Linked DNA regions of Homo sapiens: all the other regions are linked to region 2. The links are contacts of gene promoters, found by promoter capture Hi-C in blood cells and fetal thymus (Javierre and others, 2016). All regions are on one chromosome and are shown on one strand. The core of a region is centred on a gene start or on the middle of the fragment in contact, and the rest is flanking DNA. Distances in the headings are between cores, read along the strand shown. Region 1 overlaps PPT1 (palmitoyl-protein thioesterase 1). Region 2 holds the start of ZFP69 (ZFP69 zinc finger protein). Region 3 has its middle 22 kb from the start of PPT1. Region 4 has its middle 5.6 kb from the start of PPT1. Region 5 has its middle 22 kb from the start of RLF. Region 6 has its middle 39 kb from the start of MFSD2A. Region 7 overlaps CAP1 (cyclase associated actin cytoskeleton regulatory protein 1).

Region 1 (3,839 bases), core at 962-3,461, 390 kb before region 2:
TTAAAAAATTAGTGGGGTGTAGTGGCTCACACCTGTAGTCCCAGCTGCTCAGGACGCTGAGGTGGGAGGATTGCTTGAGCCTGGGAGGTTGAGGCTATGTTGCAGTAAGCTGTAATGGCACCACTGCACTCCAACTTGGGTGACAGAGTGAGACTCTGTCTCAAAAACAAACAAACAAAAATTCATGATTCACGGGAAGAGGTCAAAATATCAGTATTATCAGGAATTTAAAAGAAGTTGATTCCAACCCTCATGAATGGCTGAGGGATTCAAGACTTCAATGAAGGAAGTAACTGCAGATGTGGAAATAGCAGGAGAACTAGAATTAGAAGTGGAACCTGACGATGTGACTGAATTGTTGCAATCTCAAAAAACAGATAAGGAATTGCTTCTTACGGATGAGCAAAACAGTGGCTTCTTGAGATGGAATCTACTCCTGGTGAAGATGCTGTGAACACTGATGAAACGACAACAAAGGATTTAGAATAAATATTACATAAGCTTACATAAAAGCAGCGGCAGGGTTTGAGGATTGACTCCAGTTCTGAAAGATGTTCTATTGTGGCCAAAATGCTACCAAATAGCATCGCATGCTACAAAGAAATCTTTCATGAAAGGAAGAGTCAACTGATACAAAGTTCATCATTGTCTCACTTTAAGAAATTAGCACAGCCACCCCAATGTGGGCAGCAGGCCACCCAGGTGCCGAGGCAAGAGACCGAGGGCATGAGCTGTTCCGGTATAATAAAATATATAAAACAACAAGAGTTATCCTAGACCTAGATCATAAACATGATTATATATGAATACCATTCATCATTAGTTTGTAGCAATTATTCTTTATTCCAATATTATAATAATCCTTGCCCTACAATCATAACCTAGGAAAAGCCAGGCCATACAGAGATAGGAGCTGAAGGGACATGCTCAGAAGTGACCAGAAGACAATAGTGTGAGCCCTCTGTCATGCCCGGACAGGGCCACTAGAGGGCTCCTTGGTCTAGCGGTAATGCCAGCGTCTGGGAAGATGTCCGTTGCCAAGCGGACCGTGGTCTAGTGGTAGCGTCAGTGCCAAGGAAAAACACCCACTACTTAGCAGACTGGGAAAGGGAGTCTCCCTTTCCCCGGGGGAGTTTAGAGAAGCCTCTACTCCTCCACCTCTTGTGGAGGGCGTGACATCAGTCAGGCCCGCCTGCAGTTATCCGGAGGCCCAACCATCTCCCTGTGATGCTGTGCTTCAGTGGTCATGTTCCTAGCCTGCTTTCATGTTCCATCCTGTACACCTGGCTCTGCCTTTTAGATAGCAGTAGCAAAATTAGTGAAAGTACTAAAAGTCTCTGATATGCAGAAATAATGGCCTAAGCTGTCTTTCTCTCTCTCTCTCCCCACCTCGGCTGCCAAACAGGGAAGGGCCCCCTGTCCAGTGGACACGTGACCCATGTGACTTTACCTATCATGGGAGATGGCTCACACTCCTTACCCTGCCCCCCTTGTCTTGTATCCAATAAATATCAGCGCAGCCTGGCATTCGGGGCCGCTACCAGTCTCCACGTCTTGGTGGTAGTGGTCCCCCGGGCCCAGCTGTCTTTTATCTCTTTGTCTTGTGTCTTTATTTCTACAATCTCTCATCTCCGCACACAGGGAGAAAAACCCACCGACCCTGTGGGGCTGGACCCTACATCCCAACCTTCAGCAACCACCACCCTGATCAGTCAGCAGCCATCAACACCGAGGCAAGACCCTCCACCAGCAAAAAGATGACTTGCTGAAGACTCAAATGATTAGCATTTTTTAGCAATAAAGTATTTTCTAATTAAGGCATGTACTTTTTTTAGGCATGATGCTACTGCACACTTAATAGACTTCAGTATAGTGTAAACATAGCTTTTATATGCGCTGGGAAACCAACAACTTTGTGTGACTTGCTGTATTAACAATATTTGCTTTATTGTGGTGGTCTAGAACCAAATCCTCAGTTTCTCTGAGGTATGCCTGTAGTTCGTTACATTACTCTCTAACTTTTTTGAATGGCTGAAAGTCTCTGAGAGAGCCTGAGTAGATGCCTTAATATTTCCAGAAAACCAAGTTGCAAGTTCATCGGCTGAGGGCAAAGACATGGGAAAACTGGACAATTGAGGAAAAGCACTCTGAGATCCACTGAGGGTGGGGTGCAAACTGGGAGCGGGGCCCAGAGCAGACCTGGGGAAGGCAAGTTGCTATGAAAATTAAACAGGATATGTAAAGCTCTAGCTTCCTCTGAGCTGGTACGGGGGAAGACGGAGGCCAAGGCCAGGGCAACACTGAAGCATTCATTGTGGCAGGGAGTGTAGAGGTAGGAGGGTAGAGCGTGGGGCAGGGGATGGCAGGGAGCAAACCGGAGGAAGGAGAAGGCTAGGAAGGGCTGACAGCATCTGCAAAGGCAAAAGGGAACTAGAGGGTAGTTTTACATCCAGGAAGGAGAGAGAGAACTATTATACCATTCCTCGTTGCCCTCACCATGCCAAGCCGGGGGCTTCCCCACCAGTTACTGTGCGTATTAGGATATCACGTTTGCTTTGCTAAGGTTAAGTTATCTGAAGAATGTGGAAGACATCTTTTGGGGTCTCTGCCTCTCTTGCACTCTTCCTGCCCGGCCTACTGGTTTACAGGGAGGTGGGGTATGGTTAGTAAGCACGGTCCCACTTCTCTGGCCACAGCTAATGAGAGCAGAGGGGGAGACCTGACCTGAGCTGGGGCATGGTCCCTTCCTGAAGAATCTGAATCGGGACAAAGAGAGTCTAGCCTCAGACTGAGACAATCTCCTAACAGAAAATTAAACATTTGGAAGCCGTGCGAGGCCACCTTCCATCATGTGGGTGGCAGGGGAAGCTGGTCTGCATGGAGAGAAAGAAGCAGCGACACAGAGAGAGAAGCAACAATGGCACTGGAGAGAGAATACCCTGGCTCCTCATGGCTCCCAATTCTTGATTCTAGGCCCTATGAGGCTTTAGGCACCAACAGAGTATTACTTTCTTTTAAAATTTACTTTGGCTTGATATGGGTTTCTTCTTGCAACCAGAATTAATCCTCCCTAATACCAGGGGCAACCTGGGACAGTATCACAAAGACAAAATGATTTCTCTTTATTACTTTAAGCCTTCACCATCTGCTCTGCTAAAACAGTTCTCACACTCATTCATCTGCTTGCTTGCTTTCAAAAACATGTTGCCATTTTTTATGATCTCTTACCTCCTCTCTCCCTGTTCTCTCTGCCCTTGTGGGTTTATCACTTTTTATTCTTCTGCTACCACTTAATTAAAGTTTAAGGAGGAAGTGAAGATAAACACATCAATCTATAGCTTTTAATCAGTATTTTTTATTTTTATTTTTTGAGACAGAGTCTCACTCTGTCATCTAGGTTGGGGTGCAGTGGTGCGATCTCAGCTCACTGCAACCTCCGCCTTCTGGGTGCAAGCAATTCTCTAGCCTCAGCCTCCGGAGTGGCTGAGACTACAGGTGTGCACCACCACGCCTGCCTAATTTTTGTATTTTTAGTAGAGATGGGGTTTTGCCATGTTGGCCAGGCTGGTCTTGAACTCCAGGCCTCAAGTGATCTGCCTACCAAGGCCTCCCAAAGTGCTGGGATAACAGGCATGAGCCACTGCGCCCCGCCTTAATCAGTATTTAGGTGTCACTTGTCACCCCCCGACGGACTGCTCACTTAGCATCACTAACAGAATTCTGATCGCCAAGGGTTGTTTTGGTTCACACAAAGAAAGAAAAGTATAGGCGTTTTGGAGGCAACTGGGCAAGAGTGAGAATAAAGAGTAAAGGAAGAAGAATGAAGTTTAAATACCATG
Region 2 (3,404 bases), core at 359-2,858:
TTATTTCTTCAGGCAAAGAAAATATGATTTTATTTTACTTTTTTTCCTAAAAACTCTAATAGGTAAGCAAGAAAATATACATATGTTTTAAGCCAGGGTCTTGCTCTGTCACCCAGGCTGAAGGGCAGTGGTATGATCGTGACTTACTGCAGCATCAACCTGCTGGGCTCAAGCGATCCTCCCATCTCAGCCTCTTGAAGAGCTGGGACTTCAGGGCTGTGCCACCATACCTGGCTAATTTTTGATATTTTGTAGAGACAGGGTTTTGCCATGTTGCCCAGGCTGGTCTTGAACTCCCGAGCTCAAGCAATCCACCTGCCTTGGCCTCCCAAAGTGCTGGGATTATAGACATAAACCACTGTGTCCAGCCCAAGAAAATATTATTTTGCGGTTTGCATCAAATAATTCTAAAAGCAGTTGTTTCTGCAGGTCTATTTCCAATGTTTGTGTTTCTGCTGGTTCTCACTAAGAATCTAGTTTCTTTGTGTACCTGGTTATCTTTAATTCTGTATTTGACATTGTCTATGAAAACTTATGTGTAGGAAAAATGTCGGCCCTACAATTATAAGGCTTTCCTCCACCTATTTGCTTTTGCCAAGCATCTGGTGACACCATAGTCAGAGACAGTCTTAAACCAAGATAATGTCTGAGACAGGCAATTTGATGCAGTCTGTAAATTCCTTTTAAGCTGTTCCATTTTCAATTCATCCTCACCCTGAGGCTGTTGCCCTTTGGGGTCCCAGTTATTGTAAGGAGGGTCTTCTTCTTCTTCTTCTTTTTTTTTTTTTTTTGAGATGGAGTTTTGCTCTTGTCGCTCAGGCATGGAGAAACCCCATCTCTACTAAAAATACAAAATTACAGGCATGGTGATGCGTGCCTGTAATCCCAGCTACTCTGGAGGCTGAGGCAGGAGAATCACTTGAACCCGGGAGGCAGAGGTTGCGGTGAGCCAACATCGCGCCACTGCACTCCAGCTTGGGCAACAAGAGCGAAACTCCGTCTCAAAAACAAATTTATATATTATATATATATGTATATATATATACACATACACACACACACACACACACACGTATTCCAGAATTTTATTTTTAAATTTTATTGTTGTTTTCTACAGTGGGTTGATACAAATATCCTAGCCCATCATCTCCCCACCCTGCTTTCCTTTTCTTCATGGTCCTCACAATCGCCTGGGGTATTATCTATTTATTTTTCTATTTGTTATTGTCAATTAATTTCAATGTAATTAAGTTCCAAGAAAGCAGGAACTGCGTTTTGTTAACTGCTGTATACGCAGGGCCAATAAGAATGTGGGGGTAGATCTTACACACTCAGAATAGATAACTGAATGAATGAATGAATGAATGAGTGAATGAATGAATGACAGGGAAGGCGCTTCACCGGAAAGGCTGAAGGAGGTCTCCCAAGGACCGCTGTGAGGAAACGGGGGGCGGCGTGGGTGGGTGGCCGCTACCCACGGTTCCGGACGGCCCTCGGGGGCGCGCTCGGGCGGCTTCCAGCTTCCGGGTTCGAGGGCGCGCGCTGCTTCCCGGGAGAGGGCGGGCTCCGTGGCAGCCCCCTGTGGGCGGAGCCGGCGGCCGGGGCTCACAACCCGCCGGAAGACGCGCGGGTTGTGGCAGCTGCAGCGGGACCGCGTGGGGTGGGCCCCGGGACCGCCAGGGCTGCAGCGAGAGCGGCCGGCGGTGCAAGCGGCCGGGAGGGCGCGGCCGGAGGCAGAGGCCAGGCGAGACACCCGGCTGCGGCCTAAGAGGCCAGGCTGGGTGGGCTTGGCTGCAGCCGCCAGCCCCGTGTTAAAGCGGCAGCCAGGGAGGTGTATCCTCCCCGGGGTCTGCAAGACGCCGGCTCAGGGCATCCCTCCCATTCCGGCCCTCAAAGCCTCGCTCCTGGGGGCGCTGCTGGGAAAGCCCACCCGCCTGGGCGGGCCCTTGATGGGAATGTGGAGCAGACCCTCGTCCACTCCGGAGGCCGAGGGTCCTCCGGGCTTCCGAAGGAAGCCGACCTCAACGCTGGACGCTTCTTGGAGAATGATTGCGTTGAGTGGAGATGTGGTCTGTCTATAAAAGGCCGGGAGGGAACAATATCTGTTACCACTCAGTCCGTCTCTAAAGAGACACTCTTTACCGCTGAAAACCTCAAGAGTGAGCACTCCCACGCCCCCGTCTCTGGTCCTACCTGGGTCCAAGGCCGATGTGGTGAGTAGGAGTCTGTGTGCAGTCTTTGAGTCCGAGGGTGGCATGTCTGGGAGCACTGTGAGGGTGGGGCATCTTCGATATGAAGCTTCTCAGCCATTAACTGTTTCCCGAGTAAGATTCGAAAATTCGTGCACTTTGGTAACAAGACTTTTTATGTATTCAGGGGTGGGATATTTCTCACAAGCTCCAATTCCTAGAACACACGCAGCTCCTGTCTCTGCATATAGTCACACACACACACACACACACACACACGCCTATAAGTCACATACCCATCCTTCTCCAACAAACTTCAAAAAGTTGGGCCAGCTCCCTTCCCACGTAGCTCCGACTGTTCTTGGAGTGCCGTATACTTTGGACCTGGTCACGGTCAAAGCACCTGCTCAGATTCTAGGGTTTGGTTGAGATGATGGATTTGAGTTGTTTCCAAATTTGCCTATTACTATTCTGCAGTAGTCCTCATTATACTAAATTTACACCATTTGAAGACATACCCTCTTCCCCAATTTTAACATTTCTGAAACCAAGATGCATCTTCCCAGTGTGGTTCCAAGGAACTTGCCAGCTGCTGGGCATCTGCGTGGGTGGTGACGTGGCTGTCACTGCTTGTTCATGCCAAAATGCAGCTATGTCATTATTCTGTCAGTTGAGATATTTTGAACTTTAAATTCAGATTTAATGGTTTCTAAAAATAACTTTAAAAATTAATACTATGATTCAGCAATATGATAACAGGTTTATAACAATGTTCATTAAGGGTTTACTGTATGCCTAGCATTGTCTCAACCAACATTACAACTCTATAGAATACAATTATTATCTCCATTTTATAGATTAAGAAACTGAAGCTGAGAGTTGAAGTGTCATAGAGCTTTTAAGTGCAAGTGTCAGGTTTCTAAGCCAGGCTGTCTGATTTCAAAGCCTGCCCTCTTAAACCCCGTCTGTGTCCAGGCAGAAGATGCATGCAGCTTACAAGGAGGGAAGATGAGGCATGGTCTGTGCATGTTTGTACATCTTTGCATGTTTGTGTATGTATGTATAGAACTGGAGATAGAGCCACGTCCAGGAACATGTATTATATTTATTCCTGCATGGATATTTTTCTTTTGGGTATTTTGCAGTTTTAAATATATTTCTGCAGATTCTGGAGTTCTGGAGACAAGTGCTTCTGGATCCCTCTTCCCTTCCCTT
Region 3 (3,853 bases), core at 106-2,605, 360 kb before region 2:
TGTGGAAACAACCTAAGTGTTCATCGAAGAATGAATAGGTTAACAAATGTGGTCTATGCATACAATGAAATATTATTCTGTCTTCTTGCTCTACTTGTTTCTCCTGTTCCTAACCTCTAAAGGTAGAGTGTCACCCCTTAGTCCTGCGGTCTCTTCTCTGTTTATACTTACTCCCTAGATAATGTCCTCTGGCGCCATGACTTTAAAAACAATAGCGGTGGCTCACACCTGTAATTTCAGCACTTTGGGAGGCTGAGGCAGGCAGATCACCTGAGGTCAGGAGTTCGAGACCAGCCTGGCCAACATGGTGAAACTCCATCTATACTAAAAATACAAAAATTAGCCAGGCGTGGAGGCAGGCGCCTGTAATCCCAGCTACTCGAGAGGCTGAGGCAGGAGAATCGCATGAACCCAGGAGGTGGAGGTTGCAGTGAGCCAAGATCATGCCACTGCACTCCAGCCTGGGTGACAGAGTGAGACTCCTTCTAAAAAAAAAGAAGAAGAAAACCAAATATCTTTATGATGATCTCCAAGGCCCTTAAGTCCTTAACTACATCCACACCCCCAGCCTTATGTCTCTGGTTGCATCCCTCACCTGGCCACCCCTCATTCACTGAGCTCTAGCACACTGGCCTCCTGCTTCTATGAGGCCACCAGGTCGACTCCCACCTCAAGACATCTGCTGTTCCTTCTGCCTGAACTGCTCTTCCTCCAAGTATTTGCGTGTTTTTCACCCTCACTTCATTCTGATATCTGTTCGAAGGTCACCTCCTTAGAGCTTTCCCCAAGCAATATATAGTCATCCCTCAGTATCCGTGGGGAATTGGTTCTAGGATCTCCTCTGATACCAAAGTCCAAGGAGCTGAAGTCACTCACATAAAATGGCATAGTATTTGCATGTAACCTATACACATCCTCCCATATGCTTTAAATCATTTCTAGATTTCTTATAATACCTAATATAATGGAAATGCTGTGTAAATAGTTGTTATACTATATTGCTTGGGGAGTAATGACAAGAAAAAAAAGTCCATACATATTCAGTACAGACAAAACCACGCTCTTTTTTTCCCCAAATATTTTCCATACCCGGTTGGTTGAATCTGCTGATAGAGAACCTGCAGATATGGAGGGCCAGTTGTATATGCTCCTATCACTCTTGATCCTCTTTACCATTTCGTTTTCCACCTAACATTATATTATATATCCATTTGTTTATGACCTGCTTTGTAAGTGACATAAAGAACTTGTCTTATTTAATACTATATTCCTGACAACTAAAACAATTCAGAGCAGAAGCACACAACCAAGAGTTGTTGAGAGAATAAATGATCGAATGGATGGGTCTTAGATAAAGGTAGAAGATGGCTCTGCTTTTGAACACTCCAGGATGAGGGGATGTTACTCTCTCATTGCCCACCTATAGTTTCTCCTACGCTTAGTGCTGGCCTAAACCATGCTGTGTCCCTTTAATATTCAAAAGGTTCGTGCTTAGGGTGGGACCAACAAAATGGGTATAACCATGTATTGACTACTCCTTTAGGAGCTAGCACAGAGGAGCTCTCTGTCGCCCTGTGAAAGCACTGACTTGCCTGAGTGAGTCTATTGCCTCATCTGATAGTGGGATTGTGGGTGCTGCTGGCTGATACCCCAATTCTTCCTATTTGTCTTTGGCAAGCCCAACTTTTCTGACACCATCTTCTGCTCAATTCCAAAACCATTGTCAGGCTCTTCAACTCTGCTGTGCCCCAGGGTCTCAGGTGCCTGAATATCTAATTCATGGCCTCAAAAAACCTAACGAAAAGTATAAACTTATCTGCAGACCTCAAGGCAGCATCTGGTTAACCACCCTCTGAAAACAGAAAGAGGATGATTCCAAACCCCACACTGTGGCCTTGGAAGCCCTACAGAGTCTGTTCCTACCTATCTCTCCAAACTCATCTCAGGCCCCTCTCCTCTTTGCTTACAAAATTCTAGCCAAAATGATCTTCTTTCTGTTTCTGAAATACCCCAGGCTTATTCCCATTTCATGGTGATGCAAGGCAGACAAGCCCCAAAATTGGGGCTTAGCCCAGGAGGGTTTTGTCTTTGCCAGGAAATAATTCAAGGGCGAGCTAGTGGTGTTAGCAACTTTTATTGAAGTGGCCGTGTACAGCTGCAGCAGCAGCAGTAGTATTGCTCCTTGAGGAGCAGGGCTACGCCATAGGCAGTGTGCCCACAGTAGCAGCTCAGTGGCAGTTCTGGAGTAGTCGTTATACTGACTTTTAATTATATGTAAATTAAGGGGAATATTATGCAGAATTTTCTAGAAAAAATGTCGTCAGGTCATTGCCATGGAAAGGGTGGTAACTGGCCAGGCATGGTGGCTCACACCTGTAATCCCAGCACTTTGGGAGGCTGAGGCAGGCAGATCACAAGGTCAGGAGTTCAAGACCAGCCTGCCCAATATGGTGAAACCCCGTCTCTACTAAAAATACAAAAATTAGCCAGGCATGGTGGCACATGCCTGTAGTCTCAGCTACTCAGGACGGTGAGGCAGGAGAATCATTTGAACCCGGGAAGAGGAGGTTACAGTGAGCCAAGATTGTGCCACTGCACTCCAGCCGGGGTGACAGAGCGAGACTCCATCTCAAAAAAAAAAAAGGAAAGAAAAAAGAAAGAAAAGAAAGAGCAGTAACTTCGGGCGTTGCCATGGAAATGGTAAACTGACATGGCACACTAGTGGGAGTGTCTTACAGAGAGGTGCTTTGGACTTTTCCCTGTTTTAGCTATTTCTCTATCTGGTCCGAGGTTCAAGCCCTGCCTCTGGAGATGAGTTTCACATCCTACCTCAATGGCATTTACAGTTGCCTCACCTTCTTCCTGAGACATTCTGTACCCAAATCTTTGCATGACTGGCTCATTCTTGTCATTAGTTTTTCAGCTCAAATGGGAGTCCCTCGGAGATGCCTTCCCAAGACCATCAGTCTACAATACAAGGCAGCACTGTTTTTTATTTTCTTCAGAGCAATGTTTACTCTTGTCCATTTTTGTTTACTTGATTATTATCAAACTCTTCTGTCTAAAGGAGGACTAACCAGTAGAATTTTCTGCAATGATGGAAGTATTGTTATATTTGAGCTGTCCAATATAGTAGCCACTAGTTACCATATGACTCCTATGCACTTGACATGTGGCTAGTGTGAATGAGTAAAAGAATTTTTAATTTAATTTAATTTAATTTTAACTGATTTAAATTTAGATAGCCACATGTGGCCAGTGGCTACTGTACTGGACAACACAGTTCTAGTATGTAAGCTTTGAGAGAGCAGGGATTCAATCTTATGCTTTGCCATATCTCCAGAACCTAGAACAATTAAATACTTCTAACCAAGATATTCTTTGGAGGATGGAGTCTTGTCAGTGTCTAACATTTGGGTCAGATGTGGCCAGCAATGAGTCATTCATTGATTTGGCTTTTGTCTTAGGAACATCAAGATGAAGATCAAGGAGATCCCTTTTCTTCAAAACATTGCTGAAAAAGATAGTGTAACAACATTGCAGAAAAAATTTTAAAAGTAAGTAACCTCCTACAATTCTTCCAGCAAACATTGCAACTGTTTTAATTTTTTGCATACTGTCTTCCAGATTTTGTTCACATGCAGGTGTCTTTTCAATATTTTGCAGACACAGAGGACACCATCAAAACTTTGTCCTTGGGGGCTGGGCACGGTGGCTCATGCCTGTAATCCCAGCACTTTGGGAGGCCAAGGCAGGCGGATCATTTGAGGTCAGGAGTTTGAGACCAGCCTGGCCAACATGGTGAAACTCTGTCTCTACTAAAAATACAAAAATTAGCCAGGCGTGGTGGCGC
Region 4 (3,762 bases), core at 342-2,841, 370 kb before region 2:
GTGGATCACGAGGTCAGGAGATCGAGACCATCCTGGCTAACACGGTGAAACCCCGTCTCTACTAAAAAATACAAAAAATTAGCCGGGCGTGGTGGCAGGCACCTGTAGTCCCAGCTACTCGGGAGGCTGAGGCAGGAGAATGGTGTGAGCCCGGGAGGCGGAGCTTGCAGTGAGCCAAGATCGAGCCACTGCACTCCAGCCTGGGCGACAGAGCGAGACCCCATCTTAAAAAAAAAAAAAAGAAAGAAAGAAAAAAGAAAGAAAATAAATATTTAAAAAGATCTGGAGACCGTTAAAAGTAATATTCTTGAGGGCAGTATTACAAGGAACTTTCACTTTTTACTTTATATACTTGTGTTTGGTTTGAAATTTTACAGCAAGGATATACAATTTTTATAATAAAAATGGAAAATATACACACATTAAAAATTATTAGACTTCTAGATTAAGAAAATGGAGTAAAGCTATCTCACAGACTCTGTTTCAACCAATATCTAGGAAAGTTTAAAAAGTTAAAATTGTATCCACGGCAAAAAAACGTCAGTATCTTAAATGTCAGTAAGTGGTGGTCAAGGAAATAAATAGAAGATTCTGGGCTGGAGCATGTCAAGGCTTCCAGTTCTGCCTTCATTCCATCAAAACTCATACAATTAGATCCACAAAATCCTGACAATTAACACAAACATATCCACATACATTACAAGAGAGAAGAAAAGTAAACGCTTTCCTTCTCTTTCCCCTCCCATCTCTGGAAAATTGAAAATGGCTACTGGGGAGAAAAACTTGAAATGGGAAGTATGGAATAGACCAAATCTTTAAGATGGCAGTGAAGACTCAGGAAAACATGCTGAACTGAGAGAAGTTCCAAAAAGTGAAGCTATCTTTTCCATGGAAATGGACTACACCAGCCATTAGTGGGGTGAACTTTGGAATAGACACTTAACAAAACCTCAGAAGTGATTGCAGAACTTAGGTATTCTAACAAAGGCTGCACATGAGCAGCCCTCTCCCCTCTTCAGACAAGCATAAAAATCATAGAAAAACTGCATACTGCATAAAATAACACTCTTCTAACTGCAGTTCAGTAGGAAAAACAAATAAGTTTCAAATAAAGTGGAAAGCAATTCTGGAGACAAATAGAAAAACAAAAAACTTCACCCCAAGTGCTTTGAGCTGTAGAACAATTTATTAAGAAAATGACCTCAGGTCAGGTGTGGTGGCTAACACTTACGTAATCCTAGTGCTTTGTGAGGTCAAGGTGAATGGATTGCTTGAGGCCAGGAGTTTAAGACCAGTCTGGGCAACATAGCAACACCTTGTCTCTACAAGAATAAAAAAATTTAACCAGGCATGGTGCTGGGCACCTGTAATCCTAGCTACTTGGGACCCTGAGGCAGGAGAATTTCTTGAGCCCAGGAGTTCAAGGTTACAGTGAGCTATGATTGTGCCACTGTACTCCAGCCTGGGCAACAGAGCAAGACCTTGTCTCTAAAAAAAAGACAAGAAAATGAGCTCAATAGAATAAGAACTCAAAACCAAGATAATAAAACAACGGAAGGAGATGAATAGGGAAGTTGCACATTTGAGAATCCAAAGACTAATAAATACCTGAAAACAAGGAACCAAATAGACATGGCTAGGAGTGGAATTAGTTTTTTCTTTTCTTTTTTAAAGACTTTTACACTCCTAGAAATGGAACTATTGATATGGAAAATGGTTTTAAATAATCAAAATAATGGTAGATGAAAACACAAAGATATTAAAACAATCAGATAGAAATCTATAGATATGGAAGACAGAAGTTATTGGTGTCCCTGAAATTGAGAACTCATTAAATGGAACAGAAGTATTCAAAAATATAAAAACAAAAGTTTGCCCCAAAATGAAGTACTAATCTACAGCTTGAAAGGTCAAGACAGAAAGCACTTTGATACAGAATATTCTGTCCTGAAAAATATTGTAATTAACTTATTGAACTTCAGATAACCAGGCAGAAAAAGTAGAATGCCTACAAGGAAAAAAACTCAGGCTATCCTTACATTTCTCAACAGCAACATTCCAGAGACAGAAGCCAATGGAGCACTGGCTACGGAATTCTGAAAGAACAAAAGTATGATCCAAGAATATTATACCCAGCCAAGATGTCATTTGGAAATAAAGATACTAGGCAGATTCCCACAAATACAAAAGAATGCATAGGAAAGAGCTCTCTCTGGCCAGGCATGGTGGCTCACGCCTGTAATCCCAGGACTTTGGGAGGACGAGGCAGGCAGATTGCCTGAGGTTGGGAGTTTGAGACCAGCCTGACCAACATGGAGAAACCCCATCTCTACTAAAAATACAAAATTAACCGGGCATGGTGACACATGCCTGTGATCCCAGATACTCAGGAGGCTGAGCAGGATAATCGCTTGAACCCGGGAGGCGGAGGTTGTGGTGAGCCAAGATCACACCATTGCACTCCAGCCTGGGCAACGAGAGTGAAATTCCATCTCAAAAAAAAAAAAAAAGCTCTTTCAAATTCTTCTTGAGAAAATGCTTGAAAGTGAAATTCAGCCAATTAAGAAATAGGGCAAAATTAAGACTTCAATAATTAAGAAGTCTTGGGAAAAGGATTTGTGATGATCATTGAATCTGTTTAAATACAGAATTAATACTGAATACCTGTGTGAATCATTGCTTTATACCATGTACATATTATATGAATTAACAATGTAAAATAGTATGACTAAGAAATATTGGGCCCTGTGGAGGGAGGTAATGGAAGATAGTATAGTACGAGTGCACTCTCCTTGGGCTTACAATAGATTCTAATTTAAAACGTATTCTTAAAAAACCAGACCTGGGCAGTTGCCCATGCCTGTAATCCCAGCAACTAGGGAAGCTGTAGCAGGAGGATTTGCTTGAGCTCAGGAGTTCAAGACCAGCATGGGCAATATTGCAAGACCCCATTCCTAAAAAATTAGCTGGGTGTAGTGGCGCATACCTGTGGTCCCAGCTACTTGGGAGGCTGAGGTGGGAGGAGTTCAAGGCTGCAATGCCACTGCATTGCTGTCTGGATGACAGAGCACGACCCTGTCTCATAAAATTAAATTTAAATTAAATAAAATTAAATAAACTTCAAATAAACAAAACAACATAATGTCAAAGTCACTTTTCCTAACCCTTATTTGAAGTCCAGATTTTAAAATTTCTTTTTATACTTGTTCCTTTTTTCCTTTTTATTCCTTTAAGTTTATTTAATTCAAGTAAACTTGAATTTTTGAATCTTTAACTCAATTAACTTAAATTAGAATTCAGGATTAACAGAATTCAATTAACTTTAACTCAATTCTGTTAAATTCAAGTAAACTTGAATTTAATACTTTTTATTTTTTAATAACACACCTTATGATACAATTTTTTAAAGTACCTATGTCTATATACCTATTTATCTATCATTCTATCCATATAAAAGCATAAAAAGATATTTAGAATGATGTTAATCAAATGTTAATAGTGACTATTTTTAGATGGTTGGACTTAGGAGTTGTTTTTTTAAAAAAATATTTCCCCCCAGCTTTATTGAGGTATAATTGTCAAATAATGAGATTTCAGGGGGTTTTTTCTTTTTCTTTTGCATTGCTTAGATGATTTGCAGTGAAAACATATTATTTTCACAAGAACAATAAGTTGATTTTTCTTAAAATAAAGCGTAGAGCAAACCTTCAACACTTCTCCCTAGTCTTCAGGATGTAGTTCAAGCTTTTGTATTCAAAATGA
Region 5 (3,660 bases), core at 634-3,133, 340 kb before region 2:
CACAGGCAACAAAAGTGAAAATAGATAAAACTATGCTCTAGGCTGGGCGCTGTGGCTCACGCCTGTAATCCCAGCAATTTGGGAGGCCGAGGCGGGCGGATCACCTGAGGTTGGGAGTTCAAGACCAGCCTGACCAACATAGAGAAACCCTGTCTCTGCTAAAAATACAAAATTTAGCCAGGTGTGGTGGTGGGCGCCTGTAATCCCAGTTACTCAGGAGGCTGAGATGGGAGAATCGCTTGAGCCTGGGAGGCGGAGGTTGCAGTGAGCTGAGATCGTGCCATTGCACTCCAGCCCGGGCAACAAGAGTGAAACTGTCTCAAAAAACAAACAAACAATGCTCTAAAGGACACAATCAGGGTAAAAAGGCAACCCACAGAATGAGAGAAAATAATTGCACTCCTATATCTGATAAGGGGTTAATATCCAGAATATACAGAGAGTTCTCACAGCAAAACAAACAACCCAATTAAAAATTGGGCAAATAAGCTGGGCACAGTGGCTCACGCCTGTAATTCCAGCACTTTGGGAGGTTGAGGCAGGAGGATCATGAGGTCAGGAGATCGAGACCATCCTGGCTAGCACAGTGAAACTTTGTCTCTACTAAAAATGCAAAAAAATTAACCAGGCATGGTGACGTGCACCTGTAATCCCAGCTACATGGGAGGCTGAGGCAGGAGAATTGCTTGAACTGGGAGGTGGAGGTTGCAGTGAGCTGAGATCACACCACTGCACTCCAGCCTGGGCAACAGAGCAAGACTCCGTCGCAAAAAAAAAAAACAAAAAAAACAAAAAGGGCAAAGAGCTTGAATAGTTATTTCTCCAAAGAAGATATGCACATGGCCAAAAAGCACATGCAAAGATGTTTGACATCACTAATCATTAGGGAAACGCAAATCAAAACAACGAGCTACAATCTCATACGCATTAGGATGGCCACTATCAAAAATATGAAGAAAATAACAAGTTTTGGTGAGGATGTGGAGAAATCAGAATCCTTGTGTACTGTTGATGGGAATGAAAAATGGTGCAGCTGTTGGCTGGGCGCGGTGGCTCACACCTGTAATTCCGGCACTTTGGGAGGCCAAGGCGGGTGGATCACCTGAGGTCAGGAGTTTGAAACCAGCCTGGTCAACATGGTGAAACCCCATCTCTACTAAAAATACAAAAATTAGCTGGTCGTGGTGGCGGGTGCCTGTAATCCCAGCTACTCGGGAGGCTGAGGCAGGAGAATCACTTGAACCCGGGAGGCGGAGGTTGCAGTGAGCCAGCATCACGCCATTGTACTCCAGCCTGGGCAACAAGAGCAAAACTCTGTCTCAAAAAAAAAAAAAAAAAAAAAGAAAGAAAAGAAAAGAAAAGAGAGAAAAATGGTGCAGCTGCTATGGAAAACAGTATGGCAGTTCCTCAAAAAATTAAACATAAAATTTTCATATGATCCAGCACTGATACTTCTGGGTATATATCCAAAAGAATTGAAGGCAAGGTCTTGAAGAGTTATTTGTACACCCATGTTCAGAGCAGCATTATTCACAATAGCTGAAACATGGAAGCAACCCAAATGTCCATCAACAGATGAATGGATAAGCAAAATAGGATATATCCATACAATGGAATATTATTCCACCTTAAAAAGGAAGGAAATCCTGACATATGCTATACCATGGATGTAGCACCTTGACAACATTACGCTAAGCCAGTCACAAAAAGACAAATACTGTATGATTCCACCTATATCAGGTACTTAGTAGTCAAATTTATAGACAGAAAGTTGAATAGTGGTTGTTAGGGGCTGGGGAGAAGGGAAATGGGGAGTTGTTTAATGGGTATAGAGTTTTAGATTGCAAGATAAGAGTTTTGGAGATTGGTTGCACAACAATGCAGATGTACTTAACACTATTGAACTATATGCTTAAAAACGGACAGGTTGGTAAATTTTATTTTATGTATATTTTGCCACAATTAAAAAATGGTTTTGAATAATTTCACACTTAGAAAAGATTTGCAAGATTAGTACAGAGAATCCTGAAGAATCTCCACCAGAGGCATTTTATCATATTTGCCTCCTTATCTCTTTATTTCTCTCTCTCTCTTTCCATATATATATACACACACACACACACACACACACACACACACACACACACATAAATATACACGAATTTACACCTAGTAGTTTTAGCATCCATTAATGATTCTTGCCTGGATTATTACTATAATGGCCACCAAATAGAGATTTTCCTATGTCCATTGTTTCTTCTACATTTATTACTTGAATTCTATAGTAAAGTATCATTTCCTTTCCCGTATCCTCTTTTTTTTTTTTTTTTTTTTTTGAGACCAAGTCTTGCTCTGTTGCCCAGGCTGCAGTGTAGTGGCGAGATCTTGGCTCACTACAACCTCCGCCATCCAGATTCAAAAGATTCTCATGCCTCAGTCTCCTGAGTAGCTGCGACTACAGGTGCACGCTGCCACACCCAGCTAATTTTTGTAATTTTAGTAGAAATGGGATTTCACCATGCTGGCCAGGCTGGTCTCAAACTCCTGACCTTAAGTGATCTGCCTGCCTCAGCCTCCCAAAGTGCTGTGATTACAGGCATGAGCCACTGGACCTGGTCTCCTGTATCCTTTTTAATTAATTTTTTATTTATATTAGTGTGGGCTTAAGGATTCCCAATTTATTCAATAAGTTATAATTCCTTACAATCATAATTTACTTTGATGACTAGATTGTCCCTGATTTGGCCAGTGGGAGCCTCTTTACACTGGCTCCTGTGTTCTTTTGACATTTCTCATCTGTATTAGTTTGCTATGCCTGCTGTAACAGTGTACCACAAACTCGGTGGCTTAAAACAGCTGCAGTTCTCATGGTTCTGAAGTCCAGACATTCAAAATCAACTTCACTGGGCCCAAATCAGGAATATTAACACGGCCATGCTTCCTCTGGGCTCTAGGGGAGAATTCGTTCCTTGCCTCTCCCAGCTTCCAGCTGGCACTTGGCTTGTGGCTGCACCACTCCAGTCTCTGCCTCCTGCCTTCTCCTTTTGCGTAATCTCTCTCTGCCTCTCTCTTACAAGGATACTTGTGTTTGCATTTAAAGTCCACTTGAATAATCCAAGACAATCTCCCCATCTCAAGTTCCTTGATCATATCTCTAAAGATCCTTTTTCTGTATATGATAATATTTACAGATTCCAGAGATTAGAGCTTCAGGGGCCATTACTTAGCTTACTACATCCTCATTCTTTGAATACTTCCTTTCTTCCTGAACCAGTAAGATTTTTCACTGCCCTAGTCATGAAATCAGCCATTTCTCTAAGAACTTTTGGTTTCTTTTTAGTGAAGAATGATACTTGGAAGTCAAGATGTAGATGCTAGGTGCACTCATTGCTATGGGTGTGTCGGTCTTGCAAGTCCTTTCAGTAGGACAAGGAAACAAGATATCAACTAGGAAAAATATGTCTGGACACACACACACACAATCATACGTATGATGTACATTCCGAAGTACTGTAGTGGAGTTGGCTCATATGGACTTGCAAAAGCTGCTTGTTAAATATTCAGGAACTTTGCGGGTGGCTGTGAAACTAGTATTATTTCATGCTGGGAGTATTTACACCGTGGAAATCAGCAAATGCTACAAATTAGTGTGTTTTGAAA
Region 6 (3,729 bases), core at 425-2,924, 480 kb before region 2:
TGCAAATGAGAGGTGCTTATGTGAAATTTGGATGGCAGAAGGACAGGAGAGGCCATTATAATTCTATTGGTGGTGAGTAGGCCTAGGGCTTCAGCAGATAGAGGATGAGAGATTGGGGTGCAGCTTCCAGACATCCTCCTGTGAATCACCCACTTTGATGCCTTTGGCAGATGAGATCACTTTGTGGTGGTTTCTTGTGATTTCTGTATTTCCTCATTTCCTAAATATTAGCAGATATATATTTTTTTGCTACAGGATTCTTTGCAAAATACTTCTCAAAATCGAATATTATCACTACTAAGCCTTCTTCCTCTTCATCAATTACATAGGTGTGGAAGCCCCACTGGACAGGCCAAGTTGGAATAGCCTGGTTCCCCAACCAGAAGTAGAGGCATGGAGCAGTTTTCTTTTCTTTCTTTTCTTTTTTTTTTTTTTTTAGACAGAGTATTTGCTCATATTGCCCAGGCTGGAGTGCAATGGCGCGATCTTGGCTCACCACAACCTCTGCCTCCCGGGTTCAAGCGATTCTCCTTCCTCAGCCTCCTGAGTAGCTGGGATTACAGGCATGTGACACCACGCCCAGCTAATTTTGTATTTTTAGTAGAGACAGGGTTTCTCCATGTTGGTCAGGCTGGTCTTGAACTCCCGACCTCAGGTGATCTGCCCGCCTTGGCCTCCCAAAGTGCTGGTATTATAGGTGTGAGCCACCGCACCTGGCCCGGAGCAGTTTTCATAACACCCTCTGGGCTTAGGTTTTCACACTCTTCCCAAGGAAACTGCAACAGGTGGTTGGTTGCAGGACATACAGGGTGACGGAACAAGCATTGAACTTAGGATCAGGAGACCTTAGTTCCAGGACCTACTATGTAATTGCTACATCAAGAGCAACACCTTTGACTTGTTGGGTCTTGGCCATGTGACCTGATACAGAAATACAGACTTTTACAACTATGTATATTTTCCTCTTTTCTTTTCTTTCTTTCTTTTTTTTTTTTTTTCCGAGATGGAGTTTTGCTTTTGTTGCCCAGGCTGGAGTGCCGTGGCACAATCTCGGCTCTCTGCAACCTCCGCCTCCCGGGTTCAAGTGATTCTCCTGCCTCAGCCTCCCAAGTAGCTGGGATTACAGGCATGCACCACAACACCCAGCTAATTTTTTATTTTTAGTAGAGATAGGGTTTCTCTCCATGTTGGCCAGGCTGGTCTTGAACTCCTGACCTCAGGTGATCTGCCTGCCTTGGCCTCCTAAAGTGTTGGGATTACAGGTGTGAGCCACTGTGCCCGGCCTATTTTCCTCTTTTCTTTGTTATGTATATGTTTGCATATATTAACCAAAATTTTGCCTCTCCTTTTCTTCACTACCTTATACAGGAATTATTGGTAGTGGTTAACTTTGTGACATATGAAATAGCAAGGAGGAGAAAACAAATGTGGATAATAGATAACATTTACATACTGCCTTCTATGTTTGAGTCATTATTCTGAGACAGATCCACTCATTTAACCATCATAAAAACTGTATGAGAAAGCTACTATTCAGTATTATATTCCTGTCTTTTTTTTTTTTTTCTGAGATGGAGTCTTGCTCTGTCACCCAGGCTCGAGTGCAATGGTGCGATCTTGGCTCACTGCAACCTCCGCCTCTCAGTTCAAGCAATTCTCCTGTCTCAGCCTCCTGAGTAGCTGGGATTACAGGCACGCGCCACCACACCTGGCTAATTTTTGTATTTTTAGTAGAGACGGGGTTTCACCATGTTAGTCAGGCTGGTCTCGAACTCCTGACCTCATGATCCGCCTGCCTCAGCCCCCTCCAAAGTGCTGGGATTACAGGCATGAGCCACTGCATCCGGCCTATATTCCTGTTTTATAGTTGGGGAAACAGATACTGATAAACTTACCCTGCTCACCCAAGCAGTCTATGTCCTCATTGGGGCTTTTAATTGTTAATCTAGCCAGGCATGGTGGCTCACGCCTGTAATCTCAGCACTTTGGGAGGCCAAGGCAGGTGGGTCATTTGAGGTCAGGAGTTCGAGACTAGCCTAGCCAACATGGTGAAACCCCATCTCTACTAAAAATACAAAAACTTAGCTGGGCGTGGTGGCACGCACCTGTAATCCCAGCTACTCGGAGGCTGAGATAGGAGAATAGCTTGAACCCGTGGGAAGGAGGTTTCAGTGAACCGAGATCATGGCACTGCACTCCAGCCTGGGTGACAAAGTGAGACTCCGTCTCAAAAAAAAAAAATCATTAATCTATATGGCCTCTTGTTACATGAAAACATGTGATAAATTGGTATTGACTTATAGTTTGGAAATGACTGATTTGGGATGTATTGCTCTCTATTCCAAGTTCTGTGACTCCCCAAATGAAGTAGAAACCCAGTGGGACCGGGAACTAAAGATATCAGGAATCCCGTTGTATTTCCTCCTCTCATAAGTGGCTCTTCCTCTGTCTGCACACCACCGCTCAGCTGCTCGTTCCACATGGCAGGTAGAAGAGGCCAGCCCACAGCTCCCAAGTATGTATCTCCTCCGTTCAACCTTCCCAGATTGAATTGGATACTCCTGATTCTAATTACAGATTTGTGTGTGTGTGTGTGTGTGTGTGTGTGTGTGTGTGAGAGAGAGAGAGAGAGAGAGACATCACAAGAGTGAGAGTGATATTGCTGGTCCAATCCCTGTGGCAGAGTCATCAAACACACACTTGGTATGTAGGACTGCCCACCTGGGAGTGAAGCGGGCAGACACCTCAGGAGGTGGGTGTTTTGGGTATTTTAACTCTGTTTGATCGTAGAAGTATTTAGGTCCTATACCATTGTTTTCACCCGCTGAGGGACAGTAATATGTCTCTCCTGAAGGGAAAACATCTTTCTACTCCAGGCTCGGTGGCTAGCTCAGCTATAGCAGAAATGCTCTACCATACTAGCAGCCTGAAGTCCTGGGATTAACTTACAGTTCACAAGGTACCGGCTGTGTGACTTCAGGCAATTTATATAACCTCCCTGAGTCTCTGTGTACTGATTTCGGAAGAATCAGAAAATGCAAACAATTGCAACTAGAAAAAGAAAACCACACTCTTGGCTGGGCACAGTGGCTCATGACTGTAATCCCAGCACTTTGGGAGGCCGAGGTGGGTGGATCATGAGGTCAGGAGTTCGAGACCAGCCTGGCCAACATAGTGAAACCCCCGTCTCTACTAAAAATACAAAAATTAGCCGGGCATGGTGGTGTGAGCCTATATTCCCAGCTACTCAGGAGGCTGAGTCAGGAGAATCACTTGAACCCGGGAGGCAGAGGCTGTGGTGAGCCGAGATCGTGCCACTGCACCCCAGCCTGGGCAACAGAGTGAGACTCTGTCTCAAAAATTAAATAAATAAATAAATACAATAAAAAGAAAACCTCACTCTGTGTCCCCTTCTTTCTCCCTTTCTCTAGGCTCCTTTTTATGTAATACACACAAGCACAGACTGCAGGAGTCTAGGTTTAGTTTCAAAGCTTTGGCAGTGCCTTTATGTCTTTGTGTAGAAAAGGGAGAAGCCATTTAAGAGGTACCTGACTCTTCAATAGGCTTGCTTATTATCCCCAGCAGGCCTAAGGGAGCACAGTTTTGAAAAGCCAAGGATCAAAAAAAATAAATACAACTTGTTCTGTGTTGCAAAGAGAAGTCCTAACTCCATGGCGAGGGAGGCAGCTTTGCAAATTACAAGGGTAGAGGGAGTGAGGTCACTAGGGC
Region 7 (3,818 bases), core at 237-2,736, 410 kb before region 2:
TATTTTGAGCCTCTCAAATACCATCTGTTGCCAATGGTTTTAGCTCTAGAGAGTGGGACTGGGACTTTAATAAGGGTGTGGAGGCTTGCATTTTTACTTAATACAGTTCTGTAACATTTGAAAAAACTTTAAAACATTTATCATTTGTATTTTAAAAATGCAAATCCAGAAAAAATAGATTGCTTTCTTTGAATTTTTGTATTTTAATAGTGCTTACAGTCTCATGTTTCTTAAATTCTTTTGACTGCGAATGACCCTTAGAAAGAAAGAACATATTCGTAACTGAGATAAAAGTTTCACAAGATGATATTTATACTACTTCTGCTGTACTTTTTTTTTTTTTAACTTTTTATTTGGAAATAACTTGAAGTTGGTGCACTGCACTCATACTTTTGTTCCATTAAGCTCACTAAATTGATTTAATTATTTATTAATGGGTCATGGTATCTGGCATTTGAGAGATAGCTTTAATCTAAAGGAGTAAATACCTTGAGAATTTTCAGCAGAAATTTAGGCCTTTGCCTTTACTCCTGTCTCCAATTTTTGAGAAAAGAAAGGTGTTTTTTTGGTTGCTGTTTGTTTTATTTTGCTGATGTGAAATAGGAAGGATTTTTCAGTGCACGGTATCACAATGCATGTGTAAGATGCTAACATGACTTCATGTAAGCTAGGTGATTATCCAATTAACTTCACTTCCAACTCTGGATATATATCCCTGATGAGTTCCAATAGGAACAGTAGTGTATGTAATTCTGCTCTCAGTCCCTGGAATCTGGAATACATGAGGAGGATAACATGAAGTGCCTGGGTTGCTATCAGAGTACATGGAAGTAGAGGTTTCAGGTTATTCTTATCAAGACTTCTCTAGTTATAATGTGTCATCAATAGCTGATTCTTCTTTCTGGCAGGCGGAGATGGTCCACACAGGTTTGAAGTTGGAGCGAGCTCTGTTGGTTACAGCTTCTCAGTGTCAACAGCCAGCAGAAGTAAGTTCACTACTAGCTGGTTTCATTTTGGTTTGATGCTCAGGACGAGTTGAGAGATTTATGTCAAGCTATTATAACATTTTAAAATAGACCTACTAGGCTTTTGATAATATATGTTCATACCAAGTCCCAGAGGTAGAGCCATACTTCAAGTGCCTTAATGGGAAGGTACTATTGGGTACTTAATGGTCTCTACTGGCTTTTTCTCTGTCATTTTGCATAGGACTGTGGTTATCCCTGGGACTTTGCTTGCCTGCCTCTTTGCTGAGTCCACATTCATCATAGTGTCTCCAAAGCCCTTTAAAGATGATTCTCTTGCTTCACTGTGGATGGGCTTTAGTAGTGCTCCTGTGGAGATCTTAAAACTCCTACAGTATTGCTTCTCTCCTCATCCTTCACTGGTTGGGAGACTCTCTCTTTAATTTTACTCCCACCTCAAAATTTTATGGTGCAAGATGTGAAAAGTTGAATTAGAGAAAATTTAGATTTCTCTTGGAGTCAAAGAATATAGGTTTCCTTCTTTTGCATTTGGTTTTCCTAGTTACAGAGGAATAATAAAGCAAGTTGTCCTAAATGCTGTATTAAAACCCTTGACCCTCAGCATGCCTAGATAATATAAAAATAGTGCAAGATAATGTCAAATATATTAGATTCTGGTTAAGTGTGCTGGCTCATTCCTGTAATCCCAGCACTTTGGGAGGCTGAGGCAGGAGGATCACTTGAGGCCAGGAGTTTGAGACCAGCCTGGGCAACATAGCAAGACCTCGTCTCTATTAAAAATTAAAAAAATAAAATAAATAAAAATAGCCAGGCAAGGTGGTGCATGCGTATAGTCCCAGCTACTTGAGAGGCTGAAATGGGAGGAAGATTTGGGCCTGAAAGTTTGAGGATGCAGTGAGCCATGAACACACCACTGCACTCCAGCCTGGGCGACAGAGCAAGACCTTCTCTCAAAAAACATTGTGTGTGTGTGTGTGTGTGTGTGTATAGATGCCATCTAATTCTAATATGTAGAATTAGATTTTAATTCTTAATCTGTCCTGAATGGTTAAGATCTGAGAATTGAGATGTTCAGGAAATGGAGCTTTGGAGGAAGGGTGCAAACACAAACAAAATTCATCCATTTTGCCAAGGTGCCTACTTGAATGCTAAGCCCCTAATTGTTTTTTATTTTATTTATGTTTAAAAAAAAATTTTTTTTTTGAGACAGGGTGTTGTTTTGTCACCCAGACTGGAGGGTAGTGGTGCAATCACAGCTCACTGAAGCCTTGACCTCCCAGGTGTAATGATCCTCCCACCTCAGCCTCCTGAGTAGCCTTGACTACAGTGTGCACCACCATGCCTGGCTTGCTTATTTACTTACTTATTTATTTATTTATTTCTGAGATGGAGTTTCTCTCTGTCGCCCAGGCTGGAGTGCAGTGGCAGGATCTCGGCTCACTGAAACCTCCACCTCCCAGGCTCAAGTGATTCTCCCACCTCAGCCTCCTGAATAGCTGGGACTACAGGCATGCGCCACCATGCCCAGCTGATTTTTGTATTTTTATAGAGATGGGGTTTCCCCATGTTGCCCAGGCTGATCTTAAACTCCTGGACTCAAGCGATCTGCCCACCTTGGCCTCCCAAAGTGCTGGGATTACAGGCGTGAGCCACCATGCCTGGCCCTAATTCTTTTTATTATTTGTAGAGACAAAGTTGTGCTGTGTTGTTCAGTCTGTCTTGAACTCCTGGTCTCAAGCAGTTCTCCTGCCTTGGCCTCCCAAAGTGCTGGGATTACAGGCGTGGGTCACCATGCCCAGACTAAGCCCCCTAATTGCATTTGATTCATCAGTTCTTTACAGCAGCTACTATATGGCTGGCAATGCATTGGGGGCTTTCATGATGATAAAAGAGCTCGTCTTTGAAGAATTAATGAGAAAGTAAAACATATTCACATGGGTCCATTAATAGTTTGTATTGGTGAGTGATAAAATGCCAAGATTGGTTATGCTGACAACAAATGCTGTAGGAGGCTGGTGTGGCTGGGTTGGAGGGCCCTCATGAAGCATGAGGAAAATTTGGATTCATGGGAAAAAAAGAGAACATCATGAGTAAGGCACAGGAATGATGTCCTGAGTGTATGTCCTCTGAGTGGAACAAAAAAGAGACAGGTGGCTGAAATGGAGGTTCTGTGGTATAGCTGAAGTATGGGTCCTGATCATGAAGAACCATCAGGTGCAGCCTGAGGAGTTGGAACTCTACGAGGAGAGTGAGATGATGAGCAGTATTTTAGCCTTAGGAATCAGGACAGGACTCATGCAGTTTATTTGGGTGCTCACTAGAGTCCATAGAGAATTCTTGCCTTCAGGATCAGAAGGCATAGACACCTTTGTGGAAAGATGTTAACCTGAATCTTTTCTTGTATCTTTTCCTAGAATAAGCTTTCCGATTTGTTGGCACCCATCTCAGAGCAGATCAAAGAAGTGATAACCTTTCGGGAGAAGAACCGAGGCAGCAAGTTGTTTAATCACCTGTCAGCTGTCAGCGAAAGTATCCAGGCCCTGGGCTGGGTGGCTATGGTGAGCAGCGCAGATTCCAGGGCTGGGGGTGGGTATAGATTTTAAGAGGGAAGGCAATATAGTTGGAGAGGTCCTGAGTCACTGACAGCTTGTCTCTCTCTAGGCTCCCAAGCCTGGCCCTTATGTGAAAGAAATGAATGATGCCGCCATGTTTTATACAAACCGAGTCCTCAAAGAGTACAAAGATGTGTAAGTTCAGCCTTTTCTCTCTTTTTTTCTTTTCTGAGACAGTGTCTTGCGTTGTCACCCAGGCTGAAGTACAGTGGCACAATCA

The links. The method cuts DNA at HindIII sites, captures the fragments that hold promoters and counts their contacts. A CHiCAGO score of 5 or more calls a contact.
Region 1: a contact is called between a fragment that was not itself captured here and the fragment with the promoter of ZFP69 in region 2, in 7 of 17 cell types (naive CD8 T cells, total B cells, total CD8 T cells and 4 more). The highest score is 7.8, in naive CD8 T cells.
Region 3: a fragment that was not itself captured here is called in contact with the fragment with the promoter of ZFP69 in region 2 in 12 of 17 cell types (erythroblasts, naive B cells, total B cells and 9 more); the score reaches 8.3 in erythroblasts.
Region 4: a fragment that was not itself captured here is called in contact with the fragment with the promoter of ZFP69 in region 2 in 4 of 17 cell types (total CD8 T cells, naive CD8 T cells, total CD4 T cells and 1 more); the score reaches 5.9 in total CD8 T cells.
Region 5: a fragment that was not itself captured here is called in contact with the fragment with the promoter of ZFP69 in region 2 in 9 of 17 cell types (naive CD8 T cells, total B cells, total CD4 T cells and 6 more); the score reaches 7.6 in naive CD8 T cells.
Region 6: a contact is called between a fragment that was not itself captured here and the fragment with the promoter of ZFP69 in region 2, in 1 of 17 cell types (neutrophils). The highest score is 5.3, in neutrophils.
Region 7: a contact is called between a fragment that was not itself captured here and the fragment with the promoter of ZFP69 in region 2, in 4 of 17 cell types (total B cells, naive B cells, naive CD8 T cells and 1 more). The highest score is 6.6, in total B cells.

The regions. Positions count from the first base shown.
Region 1 is chr1:40,083,891-40,087,729 of GRCh38, forward strand. The region is part of intron 5 of PPT1 (palmitoyl-protein thioesterase 1); the gene reads right to left. Among named protein-coding and RNA genes, the nearest start is that of PPT1, 11 kb to the right of the region's middle. RefSeq lists an enhancer at 807-1,101. The HindIII fragment of the contact is 3,424 bases long and covers 500-3,839 here.
Region 2 is chr1:40,475,682-40,479,085 of GRCh38, forward strand. ZFP69 (ZFP69 zinc finger protein) reads left to right here and starts at 1,609. Exons shown (of 6, transcript NM_001320179.2): 1 at 1,609-2,213; 2 at 3,355-3,404. RefSeq lists a silencer at 1,348-1,817. The HindIII fragment of the contact is 9,111 bases long and covers 1-2,296 here.
Region 3 is chr1:40,117,639-40,121,491 of GRCh38, forward strand. No RefSeq gene overlaps it. Among named protein-coding and RNA genes, the nearest start is that of PPT1, 22 kb to the left of the region's middle. The HindIII fragment of the contact is 3,880 bases long and covers 1-3,295 here.
Region 4 is chr1:40,100,996-40,104,757 of GRCh38, forward strand. No RefSeq gene overlaps it. Among named protein-coding and RNA genes, the nearest start is that of PPT1, 5.6 kb to the left of the region's middle. The HindIII fragment of the contact is 4,302 bases long and covers 1-3,742 here.
Region 5 is chr1:40,137,266-40,140,925 of GRCh38, forward strand. No RefSeq gene overlaps it. Among named protein-coding and RNA genes, the nearest start is that of RLF, 22 kb to the right of the region's middle. The HindIII fragment of the contact is 6,332 bases long and covers 1-3,660 here.
Region 6 is chr1:39,992,289-39,996,017 of GRCh38, forward strand. No RefSeq gene overlaps it. Among named protein-coding and RNA genes, the nearest start is that of MFSD2A, 39 kb to the left of the region's middle. The HindIII fragment of the contact is 3,629 bases long and covers 1-3,489 here.
Region 7 is chr1:40,060,827-40,064,644 of GRCh38, forward strand. It overlaps CAP1 (cyclase associated actin cytoskeleton regulatory protein 1), which reads left to right. Exons shown (of 13, transcript NM_006367.4): 4 at 909-986; 5 at 3,401-3,544; 6 at 3,648-3,733. Among named protein-coding and RNA genes, the nearest start is that of CAP1, 22 kb to the left of the region's middle. The HindIII fragment of the contact is 3,835 bases long and covers 1-3,404 here.